Linked DNA regions of Homo sapiens: regions 2, 3 and 4 are each linked to region 1. Evidence: promoter capture Hi-C in human tissues and cell types (Jung and others, 2019). All regions are on one chromosome and are shown on one strand. The core of a region is centred on a gene start or on the middle of the fragment in contact, and the rest is flanking DNA. Distances in the headings are between cores, read along the strand shown. Region 1 holds the start of RNF152 (ring finger protein 152). Region 2 has its middle 47 kb from the start of LINC01544. Region 3 overlaps RNF152 (ring finger protein 152). Region 4 has its middle 110 kb from the start of RNF152.

Evidence for each region. Contacts are between HindIII fragments. The study calls those that stand out against the background at their distance.
Region 2: a contact is called between a fragment that was not itself captured here and the fragment with the promoter of RNF152 in region 1, in 8 of the 25 tissues and cell types used here (H1 embryonic stem cells, adrenal gland, aorta and 5 more).
Region 3: a fragment that was not itself captured here is called in contact with the fragment with the promoter of RNF152 in region 1 in 3 of the 25 tissues and cell types used here (IMR-90 fibroblasts, lymphoblastoid cells and stomach).
Region 4: a contact is called between a fragment that was not itself captured here and the fragment with the promoter of RNF152 in region 1, in 7 of the 25 tissues and cell types used here (H1 embryonic stem cells, IMR-90 fibroblasts, aorta and 4 more).

The regions. Positions count from the first base shown.
Region 1 is chr18:61,889,361-61,894,982 of GRCh38, forward strand. It overlaps RNF152 (ring finger protein 152), which reads right to left and starts at 3,647. Exons shown (of 2, transcript NM_173557.3): 1 at 3,435-3,647. It overlaps LOC105372159 (a long non-coding RNA gene), which reads left to right and starts at 5,193. Exons shown (of 3, transcript XR_935562.3): 1 at 5,193-5,360. RefSeq lists silencers at 4,833-4,982, 5,053-5,202. The HindIII fragment of the contact is 14,100 bases long and covers 1-5,622 here.
Region 2 is chr18:61,791,843-61,797,640 of GRCh38, forward strand. No RefSeq gene overlaps it. Among named protein-coding and RNA genes, the nearest start is that of LINC01544, 47 kb to the left of the region's middle. The HindIII fragment of the contact is 3,874 bases long and covers 1,098-4,971 here.
Region 3 is chr18:61,809,627-61,815,759 of GRCh38, forward strand. RNF152 (ring finger protein 152) reads right to left here. Exons shown (of 2, transcript NM_173557.3): 2 at 1-6,133. Among named protein-coding and RNA genes, the nearest start is that of LINC01544, 65 kb to the left of the region's middle. The HindIII fragment of the contact is 4,940 bases long and covers 26-4,965 here.
Region 4 is chr18:61,998,980-62,005,299 of GRCh38, forward strand. No RefSeq gene overlaps it. Among named protein-coding and RNA genes, the nearest start is that of RNF152, 110 kb to the left of the region's middle. RefSeq lists enhancers at 1,746-2,585, 2,586-3,424. The HindIII fragment of the contact is 3,662 bases long and covers 1,518-5,179 here.

The sequences.
Region 1 (5,622 bases), core at 2,397-4,896:
ATTTATCAAATCTTTAAAATGGCTCACCCGTGCATGCCGTTATCACAATGTGAACAAAGATATATGAGTGAACAGCTCTTCCCAAAGCAAAATCTCTGCAAGCCACCAACTGCTGAATCCAGAGCACCTTGCAATGCCTATTCCATAGCATCCAACTCTTTTTAGGGAGAGTGAGGCAAGGAAGGCTTTAGAACTCACCACCCTCCTAGTCAATACAGTTGCTGATGGAAGCACAAATGTCCCTAAACTCTCTGGGTGTTCTACTAGTCCTGTGACCAGAAAAAGCCTCTTGCCCAAATTGCTTTTTCTAAACATCAAAGTAACAAAAGGGTGACCCAAGGTTACCCTAAACACATTCCTGCCCCCTTCAGATCTTATCTGTTGCCCTGTGGTCTCTGCTGCAGGAGGCCACCTCCTGGGTGGCCCTAGGCCCATTGCCACTCTTTTTCTACCCTGGGCGGTTCCAAACAAACTCAGGAAGCCTTAAACAAGAGGCAGATGGTGAGGAAGAGAAAGTCTGTAAGTAACACCTCTCTATTACATAATGCTAAGCTCACAACCTCCTAGAATCAGCCTTGAAAATACCTAATGGCCTTTCACTTCAGAGTAAACATGCACTTGAAATAGGCAAAGAGAGGATTATAATTATTTTATTTGATGACCAGTGTACAACCATGTTAGTAAATACCATATCAACATATTAGTAGTACATTACAGGTGGGGGTAGGACCATATATTAGTAAATTACAGGTTGGAATAGTAAATATACAGGTTGTAAATTACAGGTTGTTGATTCAATCAATACTCTTGTGACATCCAATACCCACCAAGCACTGAGCTAGGTCCCATAGGACACACTTTCTAACCTCACCTAGACCAGATCCCTGTGGAAGTCACTAGTGCTACTCACCCATATCCACTTCTCCCTTTTTCAGCACAAGAAATATTGAATTGTGATTAAATAGGGTCATATGCCCAGTTCTGGCCAAAGTGATGGAACTCACCTCTGGGTAGGATCACATAATTGCTAGAGCAAGACCCTGCAGCATTTCCTTCCCGATGCTGCAATGATCTTGCAAGCTCACATCAAGACCAAGACTCCATCAGTTTGAGTCCTTGAGTGACTACGATGAGCAGGGTCCACCTGCCAACCACACTGGATGCAGCATGGGAAGGAAAGAAACTGTATTTAGCTATGGAGACTTGGAGGTATTTGTTACTGCAGCATAACCTCACCTATCTTGCTGGTACGTCACTGTTTAAAAAAGAGAAAAATCTGCAAAAGCATCCCATCAATCTGTTTTCTAAATCAGATAATATGGAAAAGCAACATTTGTTTCAAAATTCAACTTCATCAGGAACTGAACACTACCTTGAAAAGCAGAGGGTGCTGACAGCATAGGTGGGTTCAAACAACTCTGAGGGAATTAGAAATGAAAACAGAATGACCCTCAACAATGTAAGGACCGAACTGTATGGAATTCAGCTAAAAAGACTACAATGAAAATGCCACCTTCTGACAACAGCAACAGCCATTTATGAAGCAGTGAGCTCCTCAATGAAAGAGGCATTAAAGTTGAGGCTGGATGACCATATTTTCTCTCCCCAGAAGTCCAATCCTACCTCTCTTGAGCTTCCATTGAAGTTAATTAGAATCAGGTCTTCCTATAGGGAGTTCAATTTTGTGTCTCCCCCTACACCCAACCCCAACCCCTTGAGTCCATTATCTATCACAGAGTCCATTATCTATCAGGTGCCAATAAACATCTGCTAAATGAATAAATGAGCATTGTAGAAAGGAAGCAGGCATTGGAGGCAGAGATCAGCCTAATAGCCTCTAGGGATCCTCCAGCCTAAAGCTAAACACATCTGAGGGTGGGGAGCCTCCTTCTTATATAAAAAAAATTAAGCATCAATGGACACTTTATTATGATTTATTACTGTACACAATTTAAAACCACAATGAAACCTAACACTGCACTGTGGCTATCTTTGTTCTTGGACGTGCATTTACATGGGCAGGCTACTGTTTTGCCATGTGGAATTTTGTGTGCGAAGTGTTTATTCTTTCTATTAAAAAAAAAACCACACCCTTGTTTCTATTGCATTATTACATTCCCTATTATCCCATCACATGTTTTTTCTTCTTGCAGCAACACAGTACACACCCTGTACTATTGCTGACATAAAAATTACTTGTCAAAAATACCTCTATCTTAGCACCACATTACTCATCTGATCTTTGCAAAGCACTGGCCTTTGTTTCACCTGGGACTAGATAACTCAACTGCTTTTACTAGTGACTCCTGAATGCTTGTAGTAGAAGGATAAATGCTAGTGTCACCTATGTTTTTAAAGTCACCTTCCAAAACAAAACTACATTGGAGGTGAATAATAAATCTTTCAAGTTTTTAACTTCATTTTTCAAGGGATTTGGAGGAAAATGGTGAAGAGAGAATCTGTCACAGATACCAAGGTGTTACTGCAATGTAAAAGAGAGTAGACCAGGAGCCTTTGGCCCTCAGCAATCTGTCTTCCTACAAGAAAAATCGAAAGCCCATTTCCATAACCATTCTTATTCCCTGCTACTAGTGTAGGATGCGCAGGACTCTGCCCTCTAGCAGAAAATGCTAATGCCGGAGTGTCCTGCTAAGTCTGAAGGTTACGTTTTTTCATTGCACTCTTATCAAGATAACCCCAGATCTGGCTAGGCTGACATCAAAACAGAACTATCCTTGGAAAGAAAAGAACAGGCCAGAGTTTTTGGAAAAGCCCCAATAACCTAAAGATAAAATCCAGAATGAGAGTCTACTGGTTCATGGCTATCTAAATGGAAACTTCACTCAAGCTGTTTTCTCTGTTCTCTTTCTGCTGCCCCCAACAGCCCTCCCTTCCACCTCCCAGTACTCACTGCTAGCATGTCTCTCTTAATATTGCAAACACTATTACAATGAAGGAACAGAAGAAAGACAGTATTTCATACGAAGGTCACTGCATTTGACCGGTGCTCAATTAGAGCACTGGGCAAAAGTACAATCAGCCTTCCAATGATACCTTTTCAACAAAGGATACCCCACCTCTAGACTGAAGCCTAAATCTATTACTACAGATAAGAAAGCAGGCATCTATGGAAACCTAACATTCAGATACAACTGCCTGTGTATGAATTATATCAAAATTCCCATGAAAGGAAACCAGGTGGGATTTCTACAATCCCAAATTCACCCTGCACCTACCTCCAATGGCTTCTTCAAAGGGAAGGTATAAAGTCATTTGCAATTTATTTCTTTGAACCAGGAGTTTTAGCAGCCCCCACACCTTCTCACAGATAGGAACGATGTTGATGCAGAAACCACCCAAACAGCCCTGTGCCAGCACTGTCGGCCCAAATGACCCAGAGACACCCAGGCGCTACCCAGATCGTGGGGGGTTACCTGTATCTGTCACCGAGTCTCTTTCACCCCTTCTGCGTGATGACATCAAGTGGAAATGGTACACGTTTAGGAGGCAAGAGGCTGACAGGCAGGAAACACAATTGAGACTGAGCTTTCTTCAGCCTGCAGTGAAATACATGCAGGAAGGGTTAGATACGCGCCGCGGAGAAGGAAATCCAAGCGCCCTCCTGGGCAGACGGGGCTGGAGCGGGTGCACTAGGGAGGTGGAGCAAGGCAGATGAGGTGTGGAGGGCTGGCGGCCGAGAAGGGGGCGTCACGGCTCCTAATTGTCTCTACAGGATAAATAACCACCTCCCCCCTCCTCCGCAGTCTCCCCCGCCCACGAGTTCCCCTCTGGTGGCAGAGCGCCTACTAGCAACAGTAAGCCCTAGGAAAGAAAGAAATCGGAGCAGGTGGGGAATAACATCTTGGGGCAAAGACACACTGGCAAAATCTACCAGGTAACCCGGTCATATGGGAATGCGGGGCGCCTAGTCAGCCGCGCAGACAGGCACACAGCGCGGCAATCCCGAGCATCTTTCTTTCGTTTGCCCCTGTCCGCCACCTCATCAAGTCACCGCCACCTCATCAAGTCACCGTCACCTCATCAAGTCACCGTCACTCTGCTTTGGCGATTTCTCTACTCTCTCCAGACCCAGGCAGCGCTCCCCAAGCCATGCCCCGACCCCAGGCGGGATTGGGGACCGCCGCTTCCCGAGCAGCGCCCCACGAGTCCAGCTGGCTTTGTCCTGCCGCTGTCCTTCCAGGAGCAAGCGCCCCAGGCGCGTGTGTCTGCACAAAAGACCCCCAACATCTGGCCCTTCACAGCGCTCTCTAATCCCGGGAGGGGCCCTGGGGCAACTTCTAGGGCTGGAGAAGGCGCGAGACAAGGGGACCGGGAGAAGATGAGCCGGGGTGTGTGCGGGCCGGGGGCGCAACTGGGGCGGGCGCGCGCGCACGTGCACACCCAGGGGCGCGCGCGGCGCGGGCACGAGGAAAGCTCCCTCGGACCGGAGCTCCAGGGGGCATCCGAGGACTCGGCCGAGCAGCCGACAGCGCCGCTCCCCGCCGCGGCCGCCCGCCCAACTCCGCCAGCTCTCAGGAGACACGCAACTCCCGGGACCACCTCCCCCGTGCCCCGCCAGACCCCGCGCTCCCCTCCCCGGGACCCTGCGGCCCCGCCACCCCCTCCGCGGTCCAGAAGATCTCCCCAGTTACAGCAGGCGGCAGCTGCCCTTTCCCGCTTCCACGGCTTCGGCGCGGCCGCCGTAGGGGCGCAGACATCCCTGCGCACCCCTCTGTCCGCCCCCGATCCGGAGCCGGCAGAGCAGAGAAACAAACCGAAACTCACTGACCTTTCTCCGCGGCGGGCTCGGGTGCTCGCTACAGAGGCGGCGGCGGCGGCGACAGCATCGCCGGGTGGTCCCGGCGCGCCCGCTCCTTTCAGCCAGACTCGCGCCCCGGGCCGGCGGCCGCCGCTCCTCCGGCCGAGAGCCACGGGGCGGACGCTGACAGCGCGGCGGCGGCGCCTGCAGCCCCAGCACCCGGCCCGGCCCTTCGGGCGGCACCCCCACCTGCCCGGCCGCCCTCCGCGTTCGCGGTCGGACACCGCCGCCAGGCGCTCGGCACCGAGCGAGAGCTTTTTGTGTCACTGAGACTCCGGCACCAAAGGGGGTGGGGGGAGAGGCTGGGCTCCGCTCCCCGCGGCACCGCCCTCCCCGGCGGCTCCACCCCCTCCTCCCCGCCCACAGCCCGGCGGGCCCGGGACTTCTCTCCGTCAGTCCCGAATCGCCCACCTCCCCCGGGGTGAGGGGCTGCCTACCCTCTCTCGCGCGCTCCCTCGGCTTTGCCCCCAGTGCCTACCCTCGGCCAGGACCTCGACGCCGTCTCTCTACCGTGCAAAAGCGGGACCTGAGCTGGCGGCAGGTGTGAAAGGAGGCCTGGGCAGCCGGGAGGAGGGGCAGGGCCGGGAAGGGGGCCGGGGCCGCGGTGGGTGGGTTGGGGGGTGCCCAGTCTGTGCCTAGGACCCGGACAGCGAGAGGGAGGAGCTGAGATCATCAGGTTTCCAGAAGCTGCCCTGCATCCTCGTCACCGGATACTTTTTGGCTGCCCCTAAAAGTTCACGTAGTCCAGCCAGGGTGGGGCCCCGCTTTCCAAAGAGGCCCGAATGGACACCCCACTACTTGAA
Region 2 (5,798 bases), core at 1,785-4,284, 98 kb before region 1:
CTATTGCTTGATTTTAACAAAGTTCAAACTCTTTCGCCTGGCATTTAAGCCTTCTTGTGTGATCTTATCCCAATTTTTCCTTCTCAGCTTATTTGTACCTTTTTTTATCCTCCAATTCCAGACAAGCACAAACTTCTTGTCCTCCCTAATTGTATTCTTAAGTTTTTTTTTTTTAACACCCTGCCTCTGTTTATACTAAGACCTCTTTGAATGTCCTCTCCCTGAATCCAAGTAATTCTGCATACAGTAAAATTAGAGTCAAATGCCACTAGTGAGGCCACTTCCTCCAAGAAGCCTCCCTTAATTTGCCTTCTCCTAAGTAGAAGCAGACTCTTGCCTTCCAGTTACACCTCTGTCGTGATATTTATCAGATTTAGACAAGTCAACAGGGCACAATGGTTAGCAGCACAGTTTCTAGCTGTGTTACCTTGGACAAATCATTTACCATCTTTAAGTCACATCTTATGTTTGTTTGTTTTGAAAAAGGAGGTACCCAGTGGTTGTGAAAGTTAAATAAGTTAAATCGTGGAAAGTATTTAGCCCAGAGCCTGGCAAGTAGCTGACAGTAAATTTTAATTCTTATCATTAAAGAAAATCATATTTAACTTGTATTATAGTCCCTTTGTATATTCCCCATCTCCTTTCTTCATTCTAAAATTCCTTCCTTTGGGGGCAAAATTTATACCATAATCCCATCTTGTCTCACTCCCCACAGTGCCTTCCACACATGAGGACTAAAACACATTTTAAGTGAAAAAAAAATTTATTCAAAATCACACTAATTGGGGCCATGCAAAGCAAGGACTTCCTGTATTTGACTTTACTAGAAAGTATTAAACTACACAGGGTCAAGACATTGAAACTCAATTTTTGCAACATTTTATTTAGTTTCACATTTTTTCTTTAAATTTCAAGAATGTTTTTCCTATTAATATAAATTACTGTGACTTCTCAATAACAATGAACTTCATTTACCCTGTCTTAAAATTTCTGTTTGTCATAGCCTCCCTTCTTCATCTCTGAGCCACCATTCTTCTTAACACATAAGTCATTATCAGTTACAGTTATAATCATAATTAAACATTGATTCACTGAAAATGCTATAGCATGAACTTACACAGCTGCTATCTTCTTTTGGTAAAAATGCCTTTATCATCTTAGGAAAAGCCTCCTTGTGCAAAAATAATCAAGCCAATCCAGAAGCCATGAATTCCTCCCCCAGGACTGAAGGATGAATTTGCATGAGTCCATCACACTTTCTGCCCTTTAAACAAGGACAAGGATTGGCAAAAGGATGAGACATGATAATTTAATGCCATCGGATATGGAAAATGCCTTGACTTCCCGAGAGATGAAGTCCATTTCTTCATCTATGCTCTAGCCATTGATAATCTAGCCAGTCTGCACTCATGAGTTATCTTTGTTCTTAAAGGCAATCCCAAACCTATTGATTTATTATGGACAACAGCTCAATCTATGCTTGTGCAAAACAAAACAAAACAAAAAAAAACAAAAAAACCCACAACATCTTAAGGTATGGTCTATGCACTTGAGGGTCTTACAATCTAGCTGGGGTCATGAGACAGATATATTCATTGACTATGTCTTCAGAAACAGAAATAGAGAGTGAGGCAAAATAATTAAATTTTCTTTTTTAGAAAATATGGAACTTTCTGGCATGCCTACATTACATTATAAAAAATAATATGTGATAAGAACCAAGTGGTATAGACATAATAACTACTACAGGAATGAAGAGATACTAAGGAAGGAAGTTGAAAGACGGAAAAGTTTTACTAAGGAGGTGAGATAAAGGAAAGGTAAGGCCAGGCGCAGGGGCTCATGCCTGTAATCCTAACACTTTGGGAGGCCAAGGCAGGAGGATTGCTTGAGGCCAGGAGTTCGAGACCAGCCTGAGCAGCAAAGTGAGAACTCCATCTCTACAAAAAATGTATTAAAACAAAAACGGAAAGGTTAGACTTAAATCTGATATGGGGAACTCAAATGGCCACAGAGGCCAACCAGAGAACATAAATGAATGAGACTAAGTATAGGATAGAAATATTAATTCTGCACGTCCAGGGAATATGGGGAAGAACCACTACCCACTCTATGATACTCATAACACACATCTTCTGATTTTTCAAGAAAAGTTAGAAATCCAGATATTTGTAAGAAATAGCCAGATTTTAAAATATTGGCAACTAAGAGAAACATGTTTGTAGGTCAAATAAAACACAGTTTCTGGCTGGATGGGACTACCGCTTTGCAGCTCTGACCCAGGTCAGCTAAATGAGCAGCTTTTCCTCTCACACAACACTTTGCATTTCAAATGACTTCAGTTTTAGTGCATGCAGAATATATTTAACCCCGGTTACCCTGATATAGACACAGTGCATTTACTCTGGATAATTCCCTAATTTTAAAGAGGAAACTTAAGATGTTTTTCTCCCTGCCACATGATTTTGCTGTCAACAGTAATTGTTCTGAGCCTCTGGTGCACTGGTAAGAGCTGGTGAAAAAGGCCTTGTCCTGACTAATTAAACTCTGTTTGCTGAGAGCAAGTGTCAGAGTCTCTATTACGCTTCCCACCTCTTTGGCTGCCTCAGGAGGAAGCTTTGGTCTTACAAAACTGCTAGCATTCCTCCTCATTTGCTTTTTATCTTAATTTTTTTTTTTTTTTTTTTTTTGAGATGGAGTCTCGCTCTGTCGCCCAGCCTGGAGTGCAGTGGCACAATCTCAGCTCACTGCAACCTCTGCCTCCCAGGTTCCAGCTATTCTCCCACCTCAGCCTCTGGAATAGCTGGGATTACAGGCATATGCCACCACACCTGGCTAATTTTTGTATTTTTAGTAGAAATGGGGTTTTACCATGTTGGCCAGGCTGGTCTCAAACTCCTGACCTCAGGTGATCCACCCGTGTCAACCTCCGAAAGTGCTGGGATTACAGGCGTGAGCCACTGCGCTCGGCCTATTTTCATTTTTTTTATTGTGGAAAAATAGAAATAATATTTCTCCATTTTTGAGAGTTAGTGCCAAGTCAGCGGCATTAAGTGCATTCACAGTGTTGTGCAACCATCACTACCATCAATTTCCAGAACTTTTTCATCATTCCAAACAAAAACTTGGTACCCACTACACAATAACTTCCTATTTCCCCTCCCCTAGTCCCTGGTAACCTCTATTCTACTTTCTATCTCTACGAATTTGCCTACACTAGAAACATCATAGAAGGGTAATCATTCAATATTTGTCCTTCTGTGCCTCACCTATTTCACTCAGCATGTTTTCAAGGTCATCCATGTTGCAGCATGTATCCCACTTCTAAAAAATATTGTTCTTTTCTCCCATATTTCCTTCACCATTTTCTCTATTTTAGTTGTAAATACATACAAAAGGAATAATGCTTTTGGCATTAAAATGGCCTAATTATACATCGTTCAAAGCTTTAATTCTCTGAAAAGGAAAGGATATTGATTTATCCAAATCTATGGTTTTCAGACAGCTTGGATTTTAACCTTGCCACCATTAGCTACCTATAAGGCCCTAGGAAAATTATTTAACCTTTTTGTGACTTAGCACCCTCATCTGAAAAACCAGGATAATAATAATTCTAATAGCCAATGTCATACATAACATGCATATACATGTACACGGTAGCATGCATTTATTCAGAAAACTTATAGTAATTTCATTCCATTTCAGGGACTGGTTATAGGATAGAGAACTGTTGATCTTTATAAATATGTAAGTATATTTCAGTACTCTGTATAATTTATTTAAATTAGTCCTTATTAGTTAATCCAGACAATTTGCTAACCAGAGACTGATGATTGATAAAGGATTATTAATGGTAAGGATAAGAGCTACCCAAGTCAGGGCACATTTCCCCGTAAGACATACAGTGGCCTCATCTTCAGCCTTCACACTGAAAGTTGGAAACAGAGGACACTACAGAGCAGGCTCACAGGGACAACTCTCAGTAGGGAAGTTGACAAAAATATTTGGAAAGAAAGAAGGAAAAGAGGCAGGGAAGAACAGAAGAAGGAAGGTTGGGAAGGAAGAATCCAGCCTGGTGTGGTGGCCCACACCTGTAATCCCAACACTTTGGGAGGCCGAGGTGGGAGGATCACTTGAACCCCTGAGTTCGAGACCAGCCTGTGCAACATAGTGAGACTCTGTCTCTACAAAAAATCTAAAAATTATCTAGGCATGGTGGTGGGGGCCTATGATCCCATCTACTCATGAGGCTGAGGCAGGAGGATCACTTGAGCCCAGGGGTCGAGGCTGTGATGAGCCATGTTTGCACCACTGCACTCCAGCCTTGGCAACAGAATCAGACCTTGTCTCAAACAAACAAACAAACAAACAAACAAACAAAAAGGAATCCAAGCAGAACAAGCTGCACCATTCAATGTAGGTGCAGAAATCCTGACTTGCCTTTCAATGGCCCCTGAGAGCATCAACTTTTCTGATAGCCAAGGACTAAACAAGGTGGTGTGGACAGAAGGAAAAAATGTGTAAGTAAGATCCTATCCCTCTTTACAGGCAGATCACAATCTAGTAGTGGACAGAGACACATAAGCCAATGAATGCTAAGATGATAAACACAAGAATACAAATCCTTAACGTACCAGGGAACCACAGAGGAGGGACAGCTGAGGTCTCTCTTGTAGGGTCAAGAAAGCTTCCTGGTGCATATGACGTCTGTGCTGGATTTTGAAAATTGAAAGAGAGTTTCCCAGTCAGACCAGACTGACAGGCAGGGAGAAACAGCATATGGACAAATGCATCCAGGGAACATTTAAAATAGTTTAACACTGCTGGAGCTTAGAAATAGACTGGAGGGGTATGTAGGTAGGAGGAGTTTCATAAGGAACCTGTGTGTCGTTATGCTAAGCTACCTGGACCCTCGTCTTATTGATGACAGGGAGCCAGAAAAAGGTTTAATGAGGAGAAGGGCACGCTCCGAGATCTGTGGTCTCATTTGAAGGAACGCACAGCTTTAGTAAAGAGTCGGTGGTAGAGACAGAGCAGAAGACAGGGCCATTAGGAGGAGATTGGAAATTCCTGATGAACATCTAAATCAGGGCAGCGGCCATAAAGAAATAAAAGAAAAATGAACAAATACAGTGTTTCTTTTATTAGTCTTTATAGTCATTCATTTAACAGGCATTTAATGAGCACTCACTGTTAAGGGAAGCATTTCATTAATATATGTTATACTTTTCAGCTTTTTGAAGCATTTTTGCAAGCTTCATTATATTTCTTGATGCCAGAGTAATTATGTCAGGCAAGAATAGGTTTTTTCATCCCCATTTTGCAGATGAAGAAACTGAGGTTCAGAGGGATGAACTCATTTTTCCCAAGGTTAATACAGATAGCAAACTGAAAAGTATGAGTTAGATCCAAATCTGCTTACTGTGGTCCAGGTTTCCTTCCACCATCACACCATGGAATTATCAGCTCAAAACAATTTCCTGGCCAGGTGTGGTGGAGCTCACACCTGTAATCCCAGCACACTGGAAGGCCAAGGCAGGAGGATCATTTGTGGTCAGGAGTTTGAGAACAGTCTGGTCAACACTCACAGTGAGACTTTGTCTCTACAAAAAATAAAAAAAATTAGCCAGGTGTGGTGGCACACACCTGTAGTCCCAGCTACTCAGGAGGCTGAGGTGGGAGGATTACTGGAGCCCATGGATTGATGAGCTGTGTTTGCACCACTGCACTCCAGCCTGGGTGACAGAGCAAGACCCTGTGTCAGAAAAACGAACAAATCTCCCCTCCCCATAATTTTC
Region 3 (6,133 bases), core at 1,246-3,745, 81 kb before region 1:
GGGAAGCACTCCCACAAAAACAAAGAAAATGCATGCTGTTGCAGACTTCAAGAGGTCCCTCAGTACTCTGCCCCAAATATTACTGATTGTCCCTAAAAATATCATAGTATGAATAATATAAAAAACCTTAGATTAGAATAATAAAATCGAGCTAATGAGATGAGTATTTCAAGCACCACTACATCATAGGTGAGATATATATAGTGGGATACCCCAGGCAGTGAATCCTGAAAAAAAAAAAAAAAAAAAAAGTCATTGGCTCGACTGAGCAAGAAAATTTGTGCAGAAAAATGGGAACCAAATTGCAGGGATTCGGGAATAATGGTGCACTCGCCCTAACCACTTGAGCAGATCCAAAAAATAAGGTATTTGGAAGAAATTAAATGCCCCACCTGCTTAAGTTCTTCAATGATTAATGGCTTTCCAATAAAATGTATACAGTAGAACCTACCTCTTCATATATTTGAAAAGTTTCAAGTGTTTATATAGACACTCCCAAAGGTAGTTAGTTTGACATAATGTATGCAGCCCATAGCAACAGTTAAGAAATTAGCATCTAATCCAATATTGTATAACTCACAAATTGGAAAACATGACTAATAACAGTTTTTTACTGAATTTTAACTCCAATTACAGCTAAATCGTGGTGTGTGTGTGTGTGTGTGTGTAGTAAGTCAGTTGTGTCAGAAAAATCAATGGCTTGAATTTCCACTTATCTTTTAGAAGTGTTTCATGTTGGCTGGGTGCAGTGGCCCATGCCTGTAATCCCAGCACTTTGGGAGGCCGAGGCGGGTGGATCGCCTGAAGTCAGAAGTTGGAGACCAGCCTGACCAACATGGAGAAACCCCGTCTCTACTTTAAAAAATACAAAATTAGCTGGGCATGGAGGCGCATGCCTATAATCCCAGCTACTCAGGAGGCTGAGGCAGGAGAATAGCTTGAACCTGGGAGGCGGAGGTTGCAGTGAGCTGAGATCATGCCATTGCACTCTGGCCTGGGCACCAAGAGCAAAACTCCATCTCATAAATAAATAAATAAATAAATAAGTGTCTCATGTTGAACAAAATCCAGCAACTGAACATCGTTGCTTTTTAAATAGACTACTACTTTCAAAACAGCTACTGAATTATCTCGACTATCTTATTATTCTCAATAGTTTCTGTTTTGGTAAGAATTACCTTGTAGGTGACAATTTACTGAGAATGATGGAAATGTCAAGGAACAGCTTCTCTATCTAAGTCAGGGATGACAGACTGACTACCTGACACTTCTTATGTGGAAACAAAATGCTGACTGGTGGGCAGCATCACTTTTCTGAGAAAAGATAGAAATTGAAGTCTTTTGTGTATCACTCCTTTTGCACCGATAACTTTTGAACTTCTATCTTCCTATTAAGGCTAAAGAAAGATTAGTATCTTGGCAAAAAAAAAAAAATTAAATGATTTTTAAAGGCAAGCTAAGAAGGAAAGTCTTGCACATTGATGAGTTCTAGAAAAAAAAAATCAACCCATTTCTGCTAAAATGAAGTAAATGTATTTTGTATATATTCCATTTGGAAAACAATGAAAAGCAGACTAACCAATTTTGAAACAACATAAGTTTTCAAATAAAGGGATGGGAACTCTTAAAATCAAAATCTAGACTGGAATAAATACCAGATTATCAGTAAGAATCTGGTCTTTATAGGAAATATATCTCAAACTGAATTTTCTGCTTCCTTTTATTTAGCTAAAAAGTAATTATTGTAGCTTTAGTAAACTTCAAGTCTTTAAATTTCATGGGCAGTATTTTTTACTGTTAAAAAAAGTGCTTTTGTGCAAAGCTTCAAATCTTCAACTCTTTCAGGGATAACTGAAATTTTTGCTTAAAAAAGAAAGACACTAAAACAATGTCAAATCTCATTCTAAAAATACTACCTACATTTTAGTTTGGCATCTGAAAAATGATGCCCACATATGCCCACACCAAATACAACGACAAGCTGGCCAACTTCAAGGGCAAACAAAACCAGTCTGAACACTGCAAAACATGCTTGCTCTTATATTTGCACCTTACTAATACAGCAATGAAGTTTGGATAGGATACTGGAAGTGAACAGGGATTTCATTAGGCTTTTTTTTTCCTGTAACATTTACTTTTTGGCCACAAGACCCTAGACACAATTTCACAGTACAGATCATGCATAGCTTGCAAGTCAAACGTTTTACAGGTACTGTCTAACTACTATTTTTGGACAATAGGTTAACATGCAGCTAATGATCCCAGAAAAGGGGCTTAATAAAGCATTCTTTAAGCTTCACTGATCATTCCTTGGCCTAAAATCTATAAGCAACAGTTCCAAAGGGCAACAATGAATTTTTACTGTCATACTTGAGATCACATACTTTTTAAGCCCAGAAAGGAATGTTTTGCCTTTTGCCAACTGCATGTCACTAGCCCACAAACTCTCACCTTAGCCTCACTGTTACTCCATTAATACCTTGATGCTGGATCCCCAAGCGCTATCACCCAGAACTGCATCGTTCAATATGGCAGCCACTAGACACATAGGGCTATTTAAATTTAAGCTAATTAAAATTAAATAAAATTTGAAATCCAGTTCTTCCCTTGTAGTAACCCCATTTTAACTGCCTAAAAGTCAATGTGCCTGGTGGCTACCGTACCAGACGGCACAGGTTTTCGAGCATTTCCATCATCACAGAAAGCCCTATTGAACAGTGCCAATCTAGAAGATCTCACAGGTTATACCATCACATGGTTTAACCTTCAAGGGACCCAATCTGTAAGCCATGCAAAAAATTAAACTTAATTCTATTTTTAAAGAAAACATCTTAGAGCTTTCTGATCATTAAGTATGACTGGAACCAAAAACCAAGTTGCCTTTTCATCACAACTTATGCCCCAAGTCATTATACAAAATTTTTCCAAAGACAATGCTTCTTAGTAGCATTCTTGGCTCTACTTAACATATTAAGCATTCTCTTCCTTATTTCAAGATCATTAATAAAGATGAAAATTCATGCTTCTTATAGTTTACTATTTATACAACACTCACTGTCCTTTACATACAAGTGGGGTGGGAGGTTTGGACACCAATGTTTTACAATTTTAAAAATTCAAACCACATGGTTTGATAGTTGTCTTTCAACATCTATACTCATCCCTAAGTCAACCCTCCTTTCATTTTCCCAGAGAGGTAGATGCTAACTAAAATGAGTACATAAACCTACAAAAAAAATTCTTTAAAGCAATAGTTGACTCAGTAAAGGGTATTCATCAACCCTAGAAAGGATCATAGCCAGATAGAGATATAGACAGACCTAGGATGGAGCAAGAAGACACTGCAGTGCGAAGTTCATATCCCCCCCTTTCTGCAGAATTACAAAACGGACTCATCTACAAAATGAAGCCACCGGAGGCTGCTTTCAGCTCTTTCTGTGCTTTCCAGTTGTGACTTTTCATTAATGTGCAAGTATGAATCCTGGCCTCTTGTGTCAGTGGACTTTGGTCACATGGGTAGATGTGTTTGTTAAGGGTCATTGGTAAATGCCAGAAGAGGCCAGAGCAATGGGATGCCAAGCAACATTAAAACATCATTAAGCCTATAAAATTCTATCTGGGAGACTGAGATTCTCTCTCTCTCTCTCTCTCTCACACACACACACACACACACACACACACACACACACATACACAAGAATGCACACCCCAACAAACAGGTACACAAATAACTGCAAGCAGATCCATTTAAACAATTTAAACAATGTTTCTTAGGTCAGTAAGACTCACAAAAAAAATCTGATTTTGGTTGTTGTTGTTAAATTTAAGGTCAAGAATCTACCATACAGCCGATTAATTTTGCACTGCTTAATGGCAACTCTAGCATGGGATTGTTTTTAAGTAAAAGTTCTATGGACATTTTTACTCTACAGATTTGCACTAAGAAACACAGGACACTATCATCACACACATTAGTGTCTATATCTAACCTACTTTAACAAGTAGAACTCTATCACGTACTATACTACAGGGTCAGTCATTTCACACTGTACAGAAACATATGCAGATATCACTCACAAAATTAATCTGAATATGGCATAGCTTAAAATTGCAAGGGCAAAGTCTATTCGAAATGTAGCATTCTTAATGCAACACTTCTGTGGTGTGTGTGTGTGTGTATTTTCCTCCAAGAGAAATAGAAATTAGGTCAGACATGCATTATGGCAGCCTGGGAGAGTTTGAGAAATTGACACTAACCCAACAGTATATTATGTTATGTAATAGAGGATAGTATTCAGCTAATATGACACCTAAATTATTAATACCAAATAAATCCTAGATTATTTGTTGTATAATGCCCAAGAGCTTACACAATAAAATGGCATTTTAACCTAATTTCTATTTTGAGCTTTCAAATACATTTCCTAAAGGTTTTATGATCAATTTGAAAAATCAGAGCTCACAATTTTATGTTGAATTCTCATGCCAATTAGCAGTATTAGCTTTGTATTCTAGCCATTATATTTTTGTTTTATTTCACATTAATTCCATCACTTTTATATGCATATTTTGTGCTGCTTGAAGATAACAGACAGCATGTAAATAAATTAAATTGTCTTGACCTCACAGGGCTATTTTCTAGCCTTGCTTTTTGGAATTAGCCCTGCTTGTCTTTCCTTCACTTCCCCCCACCCTCCTCACCATTTTCAGGGATTCAGTGGAACATAAAAACAGTTATATTTATAAGTGGAGTCCTTGTCACATACCACTTGCTTCATGAATTCCATAAAAGAAGTTAGATGAGAGCTGTAAAGCTCACAGCTATTTCTGAATGCACATGCACCCAGGGATAGGAATTTATCACGTACTTGTAGCAGATCTTTCTTCATGAGCATCTATAGATCATTACACATTTAAGAACATTTGACAGTTTATGAGGAACTGGTCCACTTATATTGGGAATTTGAGCTGTTAGTTTACCTTGCCACCTTTCTTGGTAAAAACGTGTTAAAATACAGGAGATCTTCTCTCATATCAACAAGAGGAAACAGGAATTCTAACTGGCTTAACTCTTGTGGAAGAGCATCTTTCAAAAAAGAATCACAGGCCATTTATTAAAATGCCCGCCTGGGTTGACCATCAGTCACAACACTCATGGCCAGTGCAAGACTCCAAAACCAGGAGAAAAGACACTCTTCTGTTACTCTCCATTTGCCTCTTACAAAATGCAGGACTTAAATACACAGAAGAGGAGCGAGTGTTGCAGGTGACGTGTAGGAGACCACTCGCTGGGTCAAGATGTCCAAGAAGTGGCCACCGCTTCAGAGACTTGACTCATTCATGCCCAATGAAGTCTTCATCCCAGGATTCTTCAGCAAAGACTCAAACACCTGAGGTAAATCAAATTAGACACACACACATACACACACAAATACACAATATTTACATTTGAAATTCTTATTTTGTGAGATGGCTTGAGGAAAATCGGCATACAGGTTTTCCCATGGGATTAGACATTTCTCATGATTTCTCGGTTTATTGCTCCCCTGTTGAGCTTTCAGTTCCATAAACACGTAGCAAGCTCTAATTACAAGTGAAGAAAATGAAGGTTCATGACAAAACACAACACATTGGAGACACTTGTTCAAATATTTCCTCCAAATAAAATGACTGTCCATTTTGACTTATTTTGTTTTGGTGCCATTCAAAATGTATTAAAAGCCTTAGCAACTAAATGAAGACTGGGTTTCAATAAAAAGAAAAAAAAAATAAAGAAGCCAGCAGTGCATGTCTTCACTGAATTTTTACACGGATTCGCAGGTTTAATTCTACTTGTCTACAGAGCATCTTTGTTTGAATCTACCGCATTTAGAGAAGGTCACATTGTACGCACTTGTACAGTTTAACGTCTAAGTAGAATATGTCTATCTTGTAACATGATTTTGAAAAATCATAAATTACAGTCCATTGAATACATGATTATGAGGATGCATGCAATCATCTTCCAAGCTGTTGCCATCAACACTCAGAACAATTCACCTGGTATCTTGTTGAGACCGCACCTTCTGCCCTTTGTGTCTGTCTTGGGGTAATCAAGAGGCAACCCAGAGGCCAGCGCTCAGCACCAAATGGT
Region 4 (6,320 bases), core at 2,099-4,598, 110 kb after region 1:
CAAAGAATGCTGATCATGCTTTCAAACAAAACTGTTCCCATATGCTTGTGATTCATTTCCCCCTTCCTGCCTTTGCTTCATTTGTTTTAGAATTGGAGTTTAATTTTGAAACCATTGCTGTGACAGGAAGTGACTAGGGAGAGGAAGAATTAGAAGAGAGGGACCTCAGAGCTGAGAGGGATGAATGAAATGGTATGTTGCTTATTCAACCCACAGATGGGATCAAAGACTGTTAGATTGAAAAAGCCCTTTAAAGTAATACCATATTCCCACTTGATCCTTTCCTTCCAGCTTAAAGCAGAGGGCTGGGAAAAACATGATCTTATCTCCATTTCTGGAATGCATGACAGTCCCATTATATACCTTACAACAGAATAGCAGCATAGGGCTCAGTTGCTGACCAGAGTGACATTTTGAAAAGTGCAAGCATCCTGTCTCCAAGGAATATTAATAAAATCATGAAATGAGTTGGCTGATATTTTCTGCTGCCTATTGCAACTCAACACATGACCTTTTAATGGAGCAAAATATTTGTAATATAAAACTAGCCTGGCATTCTTAGATAATTTATTCATTCAACAAATATTATTCAGCATCCATTATGTGTCATAGCCCTTTCTAGGCATAGGATTCAAGAGTGAAAAAAAACAAAGAAATATCCTGCCCTCACAGAGCTTATATGCTAAAGGGAGAGGACAAACAACCAAGCAAGAATATATATATGTACTATAAAGGAAGAAGAAGGGAAAAGGACAGAAATGCAGGGGAGTGAGGTTGGGGGGTTGTTATTTTGAAAAGGATGGTCAGAAAAAGGTCTTATCTATCAGGTAAAGAGGTAAACCACATGGCCATGGAGGGGACAATGTGTTAGGCCATTTCTGCATTACTATAAAGGAATACCTGAGACTGGGTAATTTATAAAGAAAAGGGGTTTAATTGGTTCATGGTTTTGCAGGCTATATAAGCATGGCACCAACATCTGGTCAGCTTCTAGTTCAGGCCTCAGGAAGCTTACAATCATGGCAGAAGGTGAAGCAGGAGCAGGCATATCACATGGTGAGAGCAGGGGCAAGAAAGAGAAGGAAGAGGTTTCAGACTTAAACAACCAGATATTATGTGAACTCAGTGAGAACTCACTCATCACCAAATGGATGGTGCTAAGCCATTTGATATGGTTTGGCTGTGTCCCCACCCAAATCTCATCTTGAATTCCCACATGTTGTGGGAAAGACCTGCTGGGAGGTAACTGAATCATGGGGGCAGGTCTTTCCCATGCTGTTCTCATGATAGTGAATAAATCTCACAAGATCTGATGGTTTTAAAAAGAGGAGTACCACTGCACAAGCTCTCTCTCTTTGCCTACTGCCATCCATGTAAAATGTGACTTGCTCCTCCTTGCTTTCCACCAAGATTGTGAGGCCTCTCCAGCATGTGGAACTGTAAGTTCATTAAACCTCTTTCTATTGTAAATTGCCCAGTCTTATGTATGCCTTTATCAGCAGCATGAAAATGGACTAATACATTGTTCATGAGGGATCTGCCCCCATGATCCAATCACCTCCCACTAGGACCCACCTTCAACATTGGGAATCACATTTCAATAAGAGATTTTGAGGGGACATACATCCAAACCATATCATTCCACCCTTGGCCCTCCCAATTTCATGTCCTTCTCACATTTCAAAATACAATCGTGCCTTTGCAATAGTCCCCCAGAGTCTTAACTTGTCCTCACCTTAACTCAAAAGTCCCAAAGTCCAAAGTCTTATCTAGAGATGGGTTCCTTCCACCTATGAGGCTGTGATATCAAAAGCAAATTATTTACTTTCAAGATGCAATGGTAGTATAGGCATTGAGGATACAGTCCCATCCCAAAAGGGAGAAATCAGCCAAAGAAAGGGGTAATAGGCCTCAAACAAGTCTGAAACCCAGTTGGGCAGTCATTTAATCTTAAAATTCTAAAATAATCTTTGACTCTATATCCCACATCCTGGGCACAATTGTGAAAGGGGTGGGCTCTCAAAGCTTTGGGCAGCTCTGTCTCTGTGGCTTTGCAGGGTGCAGCCCATGTGGCTGTTCTCATGGGTTGGAATTGAGTGCTTGTGGCTTTTCCAGACAGAGGATGCAAGCTGCCAATGAATCAACCATTCTCAGGTCTGGAGGGTGGTGGCCTCCTTCCCACCACTCCACTAGGCAGTCCCTTGGTAGGCACTCTGCATGAAGTCTCCAACCCCACGTTTCTCCTTTGCACCACCCTAGTAGAGTTTCTCTGGTGGGGGCTCCACCTCTGCAGAAGGCTTCTGCCTGGGCACCCAGGCTTTTCCACCCATCCTCTGAAATCCAGCTGGAATCCTCCAAGCCTCCTTCACACTTAACACCATGTGGAAACTGCCAAGGCTTGTGGCTTGCACCCTCAAGAGCTGTGGCTCAAGCTTTACCTGGACTCCTTTGAGCTGCAGCTGCAGCTGGAGTTGGAGCAGTTGGAATGCAGGGAGCAGTGTCCTGAGGCTGCACAGGGAAGCAGAGCCCAGGGCTTGACCCCTGAAACCATTCTTTTCTTCTAGGCCTCTGGGTCCATGATGGAAGGGGCTGCCTCAGAAATCTCTGAAATGCCTTCCAGGACTTTTCCCATTGTCTTGGATATTAGCACTTGGCTTCCTTTTAGTCATGCTAATCTAGCAAGTGGTTGCTCCACAGCCCACTTGAATTCCTCTCCTGAAAATGCTCTTTTTTCCTCTATCACATGGCCAGGTTGTGACTTTTCCAAATTTTTACACTCTGCTTCCCTTTTAAATATAGGTTCCAACTTTAAATCATTCTTTTGCTCCTACATCTGATCCTGGCTATTGGAAGGAGCCAGGCCACAACTTGAATGCTTTACTATTTAGAAATTTCTTCCACCAGATACCCTAAGTCATCACTGTTAAGTTCAAACTTCCAGAGCCCTAGGACATGGACACAATGCAGCTAAGTTCTTTGCTAAAACATAAAATGGGTGACCTTTGCTCCAGTTCGCAATAACTTCCTCATTTCCATCTGAGACTTCATCAGTCTGGACTTCACTGTCCATATCTCTATCAGCATTTTGGTCACAACCACCTAACCAGCCTCTAAGAAGTTCCAAACCTTCCTTTGTCTTCCTGTCTTCTTTTGAGCCCCCCAAACTCTTCTACCCTCTGCCTGATACCCAGCTCCAAAGCCACTACCACATTTTCAGGTATCTTTATATCAATGTCCCATGCTTCAGTATCAATTTTCTGTATTAGTGCATCCTTGTGTTACTATAAAGGAATATCTGAGACCAGATAATTTAAAAAGAAAAGAGGTTTAATTGGCTCACGGTTTTGCAGGCTATACAAGCATGGTATCAACATCTGCTAGGCTTCTGGTGAGAGCTTCAGGAAGCTTACAATCATGGTGGAAGACAAAGTGGAACCAAGAACAACATGTGGCTAGAGCAGGAGCAAGAGAGAGAAGGGGGAGGTCCCAGACTCTTTTAAACAATCAGATCTTGCACGAACTAACTGAGCAAGAATTCATTCATCACCAAGGGGATGGTGCTAAGCCACTCATGAGGGATTCTCCCCCATAACCCCCGACCAGACCCCACCTCCAACACTGGGCATCACATTTCAACATGAGATTTGGAGGGGACAAACATCTAAACCATATCAGACAGGGAGTGCACTCTATACAGATGAAGAAGCAAGTGCCAAAGTTCTGAGGCAGGAACACGTGTAGCATACTTGAGAAGCACCAAGGAAGCTGATGCTACTAATATGAAGCATCAGAGATAAAGTGAGCCAGTCAGAAGCAAGCCAATCCCATAGGCCTGTGTAGACTATTACTATTTGAGAAATTGAGGTTTTACTCTACATGAGACAGGAGATAACTGATGGTTTTCGAATAAGGAGTGACATGATCTGACTTCTATTTTCAAATATTCATCTGACTGCTGTGTTGAACTAGACTATAGGGGGTGGAACAAGGACAGACACAGAGAGACCCATTAGACCGGAGGCTAGGTGATACTCCACACAAGAGATGAGGGTACTCTGAAACAGGGTTATCGGAGAGAAAATGGTAAGAAGGTATATTCATTTCTTATAACAAAGTACTGCAAACTTGGTGATATAAAGCAACAGACATTTATTCTCTCACAGTTCTGGAGGGCAGAAGTCCCAAATCAGCATTGTTGAGCCAATATTTAGGTGTCAGCAAGGTGCATGCCCTTCAGAAGCTTAGTGGGGAATCTGTTCTTTGGCTCCTGCAGCCTCTGGTGGATGTTGGCTTGTGGTTGCATCACTCCAGTCTTCAAGGCCAGCATCTTCTCATCTCTTTTCTCTCTCTTGCCTCTCTCTTCCTCTCTCTCTCTGCTCCATCATCCCCTTCTCCTCTGTATCTATCAAGACTCCCTCCACCTCCTTTTTGTAAGGATACATGTCATTGTATTTAGGTCCCACCTGAATAATCCAGGATCATCCCCTCATCTCAATATCCTTAATCACATCTGCAAAGACGTTCCCCCCTCCCTTTTAAGTAGCTATATAAAATAACATTTACAGATTCCAGAGATTAGGATATGAAAGTCTTTTGGAGAGCATTTTTTCAGCTTATTATAGAAGGGATCAGAAAATGAATTTTTTTAAAGGAATAACCTGTAGGATTTTTAGATTACTTTTTGAGTGGGAGAGAAAGAAATAAGGTGACCCCAAAGCTTTTGGTCTTTGCACTATTTCTCAGAGGCAGATTCTGGAAAAATAGGTTCAGATAAGAGGACGAACTCAGTTTTGGAGATGTTAAATGTGAAAACCCTATAAAATATACAAATCGTGCTTTAATAGGGAGTTAGACTTAAGTCTGGATTTCAGAGAAGGTCAGACAGGGCCTATACAGTTGTGAATCATTGGTATACAGGTAGAATGTAAAGCCATAAGACAAAGTGAGGCTACACAGTGTGGCAGTCTGAAACTGTGTTAAGTTGGCTAAACTGTAATTACATGTCCAGAACTTCTTTCCTTGTACGGTTATACATTAGCATTGACCAAGAAAGAACTTCTCATAAGACTGGAAGGTAGAAGTGAAGCAGCTGCCATTGTTCTTCCAGGGGTGTCTGATTAGATACTGAGGGAGACAGACAGAGAGGGGCGGGGGACTCCAGCCTCTCGGTCTTCCCCACACTGCATCCAGCTTCTCCTGTGACAACAGCAGCCCCAGGCCCACCAGCCAGCTTGGCGGCAACAGCCTTCCCCGGACATCTATGTCTCTCCTTCCCAGTCCCACTTTTGCAGCTGGGTGTGCCTTTGGAAGCACAAACTCGTCCGCCCACCCCAGTGCTTCAGGAGGGCTGGTAGTGACTTTTCTCTCATCTCTTCAACTCCCCCTTTCAGACCCTTCCTTCCCTAGCTTCTTACACAATTGTATGAGGTCTTACTCCAATAACAAGCCCCATTCAGTAATACTCATCATGATTCTGCTTCCCTGATTAAACCCTGACTACCTGTATCTATGGAGTGAATCTAGATGGTGACAAGTCTGAGAACCGAATCCTGGGACACCCCAAAGTTTGGAAATGAGAGAGAAAAGGAAGAATCGAGGAAGAAAACTAAGCAGGAATGATCAGTGGGCAGAAGAGCCTGAAGCTTATACAATTTTGGCATCCATCTTAAAGAAAAAGTATATAAAATTAAAATTAAATACAAATATGAATATACATTTAGAATGGGAAAAATCACATCAAATTGCAGTTTTTAAAAGCTGACAAATATAATAAATAATGTGAAGGTCCTTTAGGTCCCACCTGGATAATCCAGGACAATATCCTCATGTCAAGATCCTTATTTTAATCACATCTGCAAAACTCCTCCCCTCTTTAAAAATAGCTATTTAAGGTAACATTCATAAATTCCATAATATTTTTGATTATTTAACTGCCTGATACACTCCTACATTTGTATCTTTACGTATTTGGGCTGCATACTTTTAAAATAACTCTTTATATTTCAGTTGTTTTTTACCGTTATTTTCTATAAGGAAAGTAGAAAAATAATCACTTTTCCTTCTGGCATGATTGAGCACAGTTTTTAAATTATTCTTAGCTTGTAAGCATAAAATGCATAAAATCAGTGTCTTCACACACAAACTTCCTTGGTGTCTATAGTCCTGATAGAGTTTAAGCAATCCTTAATTAAAACAACCTGATTCAAAAGTAAGCAAAGGACTTAAATAGACATGCATTAGTCCCTTTTCATGCTGCTGATAAAGACATACCCAAAACTGGGAAGAAAAAAAAGAGGTTTAATTGGACTCACAGTTCCACA